2 separate regions of the Homo sapiens genome follow, and region 1 is linked to region 2. Evidence: promoter capture Hi-C in human tissues and cell types (Jung and others, 2019). All regions are on one chromosome and are shown on one strand. The core of a region is centred on a gene start or on the middle of the fragment in contact, and the rest is flanking DNA. Distances in the headings are between cores, read along the strand shown. Region 1 has its middle 25 kb from the start of TSKU. Region 2 holds the start of CAPN5 (calpain 5).

What was found. The method cuts DNA at HindIII sites, captures the fragments that hold promoters and counts their contacts. A contact is called where the count stands out against the background at its distance.
Region 1: a contact is called between a fragment that was not itself captured here and the fragment with the promoter of CAPN5 in region 2, in 4 of the 25 tissues and cell types used here (bladder, dorsolateral prefrontal cortex, hippocampus and 1 more).

What each region holds. Positions count from the first base shown.
Region 1 is chr11:76,807,173-76,810,236 of GRCh38, forward strand. No RefSeq gene overlaps it. Among named protein-coding and RNA genes, the nearest start is that of TSKU, 25 kb to the left of the region's middle. RefSeq lists enhancers at 193-242, 323-372. The HindIII fragment of the contact is 6,333 bases long and covers 1-3,064 here.
Region 2 is chr11:77,064,962-77,068,220 of GRCh38, forward strand. It overlaps CAPN5 (calpain 5), which reads left to right and starts at 2,010. Exons shown (of 13, transcript NM_004055.5): 1 at 2,010-2,133. RefSeq lists an enhancer at 1,169-1,669 and a silencer at 1,526-2,215. The HindIII fragment of the contact is 16,009 bases long and covers 1-3,259 here.

The sequences.
Region 1 (3,064 bases), core at 449-2,948, 260 kb before region 2:
GCCCTTTCTCTAGGGGATGGGGTGAGAGATGACAAGAATAATAAAACTCTGAGACAAAGCCAACAGCATGCTGAGTGACTCAAAGGATTAGGGCAGCCCAGGGAGTAGGCCCCTGGGTCTCAGCGTGCAGGATTTGTCCCCACATACACGTGAAAGCCATGTGTTTGGCAGAGACACCACAGTCCTAGCCATGGGGCATCCAGAGATGGACTAGAGCCAGCCCTGGCCCCAGTGGCTTTCCATCCCATGGGAGAGTCGAATGACTGCAATACAAGGTGAAAAGTGACTGCATAGGCAGGGCACGAGCTTGAGTTCCCATCTGACAAGAGGGGCAAACTAGGTGAAAACTTGCAAGAATGGAGTTGCGGGCGGAGTGTGTTGCAGGTCTCCAACTTGTCACGGAGTTTGTGCCCACCAGAGGGCGCTGCCTTAGACACTCCCGTTCCTTTCTCCGCCCGCCCATTGCTCCCTTTCTCCCTGCCCTGTGCCGGGCTTGTCGCTCTATACACAGGCCGGGGGTTAGAGGGGTCCCCACAAGAGGAAAGCGAAGGGCAAGCTCAGACGCAGAAGTCTGATGAGCAGCGGTTTTCAGCAGCCACCAAGGACTCCACTTTCACATCTTCCCCTCCGATAAAAGAACTTTCAACCTGGTGTTTTATAGAATTTAAAAAATAATGTTTATTCAGCAGGCCGGGCCTGGTGGCTCATGCCTGTAATCCCAGAACTTCTGGAGGCTGAGATGGGAGAATTGCTTTAGTCCAGGAGTTCGAGACCAGCCCGGACAACATAGTGAGACCCTGTCTCTAAAATAAATAAATAAATATTTTTTAAAAAGTAAAATAAAATTCAATAAATAGTTTAGAGGGTCTCCTGTGTCCAGACCCAAAGACAAGTACTGGGGAAAGAGCCATGACCACAGACCACCTTGGTCCCTGCTGTCATGGAGGTGGTCATCTACGGGGAGGGCCAACAGTAAATGGGTGCCTGGGCATCTAAGTAAGTGAGGAGATGGTGAATGCTACAAAGAGGGCAAATTGGAGCACAGTAGAGGTGACGGGGGTGCCGGCAGAGGTAACGCGGTTGGGTGCTACTCTCACGTTTGAGCTGAGACTTAAAAGAAGGGAGGAAGCCAACCCTGCGGGGACCTGAGGAACCTTTTCCAAGGGAGGAAATCTCGGTGCAAAGACCTCAAGGAGTGAGTGAGCTTGGCACACTCAGGAAGGACGCGAGGCTGGCCGGGGCTTGATGGGAGAATTGAGGGCAGCGAGGCTGGCTGGATAGACCACTGTCAGTGCTGCGGATTTTACTCCAGTCACAGCAGGAAGCCAATTAGAGGCCTTTAGACAGAGGTGACACAGGCTCTGGGGACACTTTACAAAGATTGCCCTGGCTGTGAGTGCCAGAGCAGAAGCAGAGAGATCCATTAGGAAGTCCTTGCCATAAACCAGGAAGGAGATGAGAGTGACTTGATGGTAGCAGTGGAGATAGGAAGAAATGTAGGAATTTGGGTCTGTTTTAAAATAAAAATAAAACTTGCCGATGAAATGACAGGTTATTCGGTGCCAGGCGCTGAGATGTACACTTTGTGTGTATTGACTTATTCATTCTCGCTATATATAAAGCTGTTTTACAGAGGAGAAAATGGAAGCTCAGGGAGGTTAAGTAATTTGCCCAAGGTCCCATAGCCGATAAGTGACAGATTCTACATTTTAAAAACGAGTCTGTCGATTCCAGAGCCCACAAACAGACTGCTCAATGCAGAGAATGGGAAGCAAAAGATTAGACATACAGAATCAGAAATGGAATCCCAGAGTGCTAGTCCAACAACTTTGACGCAGGCTTCAGCCCAGACCAGAGACTTGTCTCAACTGTTTGGTTGTTCTCTTGGCCAAGGACAGCTGCCCTGGGATCCAAAAGCTCATCAGAGAAAGCTCCCAAGAGCTCAAGTCTGCATTCTTCCCCTCCTTGGGTAACCCACTCATGGTCACCCAGCCAGTTTAAATCCTGGGTCCTCTGACCTTCCTGTCCAGGCCTCCTCCCTATCCCCACAGAGCCCGCTCAGCACAGGGTAAGACCAAGAACATCACGTGGCCACTGCTCACGTCAGATGAGAGCATGGCATATTCCCCTCCTGAGTTCTTGGCTTTTTAACACGGACCTCAGAGCTTTAACTAAAAGTATTTGACTATGCATCCAGGTGCTGTGGCTCATGCCTGTAATCCCAGCACTTTAGGAGACCGAGGCCAGTGGATCACTTGAGATCGGGAATTCAAGAGCAGCCTGGCCAACATGGTGAAACCCCATCTCTACTAAAAGAACAAAAAATACAAAAAAAAATAGCAAGCCTGTAATCCCAGCTATTTGGGAGACTGAGGCAGGAGAATTGCTTGAACCCAGGAGGCAGAGAGAGGCTGCAGTGAGCTGAGATCACACCACTGCACTCCAGCCTGGGCGACAGAGGGAGACTCCATCTCAAAAAATAAAAAATAAAAATAAAAAAAATTGGCCGGGCGCGGTGGCTCACGCCTGTAATCCCAGCACTTTGGGAGGCTGAGGCGGGCAGATCACAAGGTCAGGAGATCAAGACCATCCTGGCTAACACGGTGAAACCCCATCTCTACTAAAAATACAAAAAATTAGCCGGGTGTGGTGGTGGATGCCTGTAGTCCCAGCTACTCGGGAGGCTGAGGCAGGAGAATGGCATGAACCCGGGAGGCGGAGCTTGCAGTAAGCCGAGATCGCGCCACTGCACTCCAGCCTGGGCAACAGAACGAGACTCTGTCTCAAAAACAAACAAAAAAATTGATTATGTGGAGGCACCCAGGCATAAAGGTAGGTCAGCAGGGAAGGTATTTTGCTCCTCAAATTGGGGTGGCAGAGAGCTGGGGTACCTTGAATTCAATCATTCCTACCATGTTCAAGCTGCGTCACAGAAGCGTGGGACATGAACACTGTTTACAACCCATTTCTAACAAGCTCAGAGCCTGCTGAAAGAGTTACCAAGGTAATCAGCTGGAGCCCCCGTCACAGGGCCTGGCACACTGAGGGGTTCCTTCCTCCGCTC
Region 2 (3,259 bases), core at 760-3,259:
AAGAGTCCTTCAGACGGCCACAGATCAGCACGGGCATGGTTTCAGGTGGGGAGAGTAGAGCCCCTGAAGTGACTTTTGAAGGGCTGGTGAAGCTGCTGCTCCCAGTACAGGGCATGGAATAAGGTTAGGGGAGATGGGGGAGTCAGATGGGGTGCAGTCTTAGAACACTCTTCTATGGGTGGCGGGTCTCAGCTGCATATGTGAAAGTCTTCTTTGGTTGGATAGGAGGCTCCTGAGGGGGCTGGGGCTACTCTTAAGGGAGAAGCATCTGGGTGGCCTGGGACAGAGGCAGGGAGGTTGGGGAGAAGCTAGAGAAGTCCAGGTGACTGAGAGTGAGGTGAGGCAGAGACTCCTCTTAGTGGAAATAAAGGAAAATCATGAGTCTTTTCAGGGGGAATTTCAGGCAGCTAGCTAGCTTTGAGAAGTAAATGAGCACCTTGACAAGCAAGAAGGTAATTGAAGCTTCAAACAAGGGCCACCCAAATAAGTTAGAGCCACAAGATGTCTGGTTCCCTATAGAAACTAAAGATAACATCTTGACCTATGTCCCTGAATTGTTTTTCACAGCTGTCACTTAGGCCTCAGATAAGGGGAAACTGAGGGCTGTTCTTTAAATTTCTTCCCAAGGGTTCTGTAAAGAGTCACACCCATAAGCCAATGCTTAACTCTCCTATCTGTGGACCCCAGGTTTTTAGACAGTCTTGCTTCCTAAGCCAATTGCAAATCACAGAATCTCTGAATCCACCTATGACCCTGCCTCAAAATGTCTCACCTTTTTGGGCCAAGCCAATGTATAGCTCCAGAGTATTTATTTATGACTTTGCCTATAACCTCTGTCTCCCCACCTTTAAAAAGCCTTACATGTAAACCATTGGGGAGTACGGGTCTTAAGCATTAGCCGACCTATTCTCCTTGCTTGGCACCCTGCAATAAATGCCTCCCTTTCTGCCGCTGCAAATCCTGGTGTCAGTGTTTGGCTTTGCTGCACTGGGTGGGCGGACCCAAGTTTGTTTCGGTAACACAAGAGGTTGACGAAATCATTAACTGAGACTTCGAAACAAATTGGAGGCGGAGAATGAACGGGCCTGAGACGCTCCACCAGCGAGTGGGCCGATGGGCTCATCAGATCAGATGGGCGTCTGTCCTGCTGCCTCAGGGCGGGGGGTGGTGGCACCCCTGAGCTCCTACTGTAGGCAAGAACTAGTCACTCCTAAACCTTCTCTATCGGATTCCCCAAGCGGCCTGGGGTGGGTAGAGATTATAGTCCCCGTTTTACAGATCAGGAAATGCAGGCTCCGTGCCATCCCAGGGCATTCCGGTAGCCAGTCACGGACAGAGAGTCAAACATGAGCCCGAGCCCGGGAGCCCATGGCAGCACGGGATTAAGTCCTCAACACGGGCCGGGGTCAGTTTTCCCATCTGACAGAGGCCCTCTGCTGCTCACAGGGGCCTGGGCTCCCACTTCTCCATCCGAACACTTGGGATGGATGTGAAGGTGGAGCCCGGAAAGGGAGGGGCGCCGCCCACCAAGTCCTGGTTCTGGCAGGCACCCTGGCCCTTGCGGGTCCTCGGTACTACACGCCGGCCCCAAGTCAGCCGCGGCCCCGGCCCGCCCTGTGGGGGCTGAACCCCAGCCCCGGCCCGATCCCTCACGGTGCAGCCAGCCCTTGGGAGGCTGCCCATGGGGATGCGCACCAACCGCAGACAGATAGGCTGGGAAGGAGAGAGAACGAGGGCCCGACCGAGCCGGTAGAGGCGGTGGGTGCCGCTAGGGGCCCCAAGTCCGCGTTCAACACAGGGGCTGGAATGAGACCGCTCCTCTGAGCGGCCGCCCACCGCACCAGTGCGCATGGGCGCACCCGGCCACCGGGCCGCCCACCCCGCCCCACGGGAGACCACGCCTCCGGCTCGCAACGGGCAAATGGGCGGAGGCCGCGGGCGGGGCGGGGCGGAGCCGGGCCCAGCTGGCCGAACCCGGGGAATGCGAGCGCCAGCCCCCGCCGCAGGCCAGTCCCAGCTGGATCTCCGGCCAGAGCCCGAGGCTGCTGCGCCGGGCGGCTGCAGCCTCCGCTCCAGCGCCCGCGCCGTGCCCTGCATCCCGGGAGCCCGGCTGGACCCGCGGCGGCTCGGCCGGTAGGAGGCGGGCGGAGGGAGGCGTGTGCTTCTGTGTGTGTGTGTGTGTGTGTTTCGGGGGGGTGTGTGCGGGTGCAGCGCGGGCCAGTGATTGCTCCGGGACCACGAATCAGTGGAGGGGGCTGCACCTCCCGCGGGCCCGGGGGGAAAGGAAGTGAGCGCTGGCTGGGGGGCGGGGTCCTGGAGCATCCGCCTGGGCCCCCTCGGCTCGTCCCCACCCCCACCCCCGGCGAGGAGTCTTTTTTTCACCTCCCTCTGGGTGTCTCCGAGTCGTTTTCCTAGTGCGGACGCGCTGGAAGCGCCTAACACCCGGGGCTAGACTGTCACTTCCTCTCATCTTCCTTACAGTTCCCCCCTTCTCTTCCCTGCTTAACCCCCCTTTCATCCCTGCAATCCACCAACCCCTTCTGGGTGCTCCACCACCCAGGCCTGGGGAAGGGGCAGGGCCGAGGCTCCTACTGCCCCAGCCTATCCGCTTCTTGGCACTACTCCCCAGGTTGAAAGGGGGCTTTTCTCCTTGACTGCAGGGCGGGCGCACGTGTGTGTGTGTGTGTGTGTGTGTGTGTGTGTGTGTGTTGCGGGAGTGTGGGGGAGTGGTCTGGGAGGGAATGGATCTTTGTTTCTCAGACCTCAGAGTTCCCACCTCTGTTCCTTTGCGTTGGGGGTCTCGGAAGACTGGCCTAGGGGACCAGAGGCGAAATAGGACAAAAGATCATTAACAGGTGCGACGTTCTCTCTCCCAGTCATTTCATGTGGTGGGATTCACCCCCAAGTTCCATACAGATCAGAAGAGTGGGGCACAGAGAAGCGAAGTCAGCTGCCCTCTCAGGATTGCTGAGCCAGAATTTGAACCCGGGTCCGCCTGGCTCTCATCCCAGAATCTTCTCCCTACACCTGTGGTTTAGAGAGAAAAGTACTGAGGGCGACTATCCCAGGACTCAGGGGAAAGAGAGATCTGGGCAGACTTCTTGGAAGAGAGGGGCTTACGGGTGAGGCTCAGCCAACTCAATGAGTCTGAGGCCTGCTGGGGGAACCACTGTGTTTTGCAAGGATTGACACCTCCCAGGGTCCTCGGGCTGGTCCTTGCTCCTGTCCCCAGGGTCTGGGGGTGGGGTGGTGTGGCTGC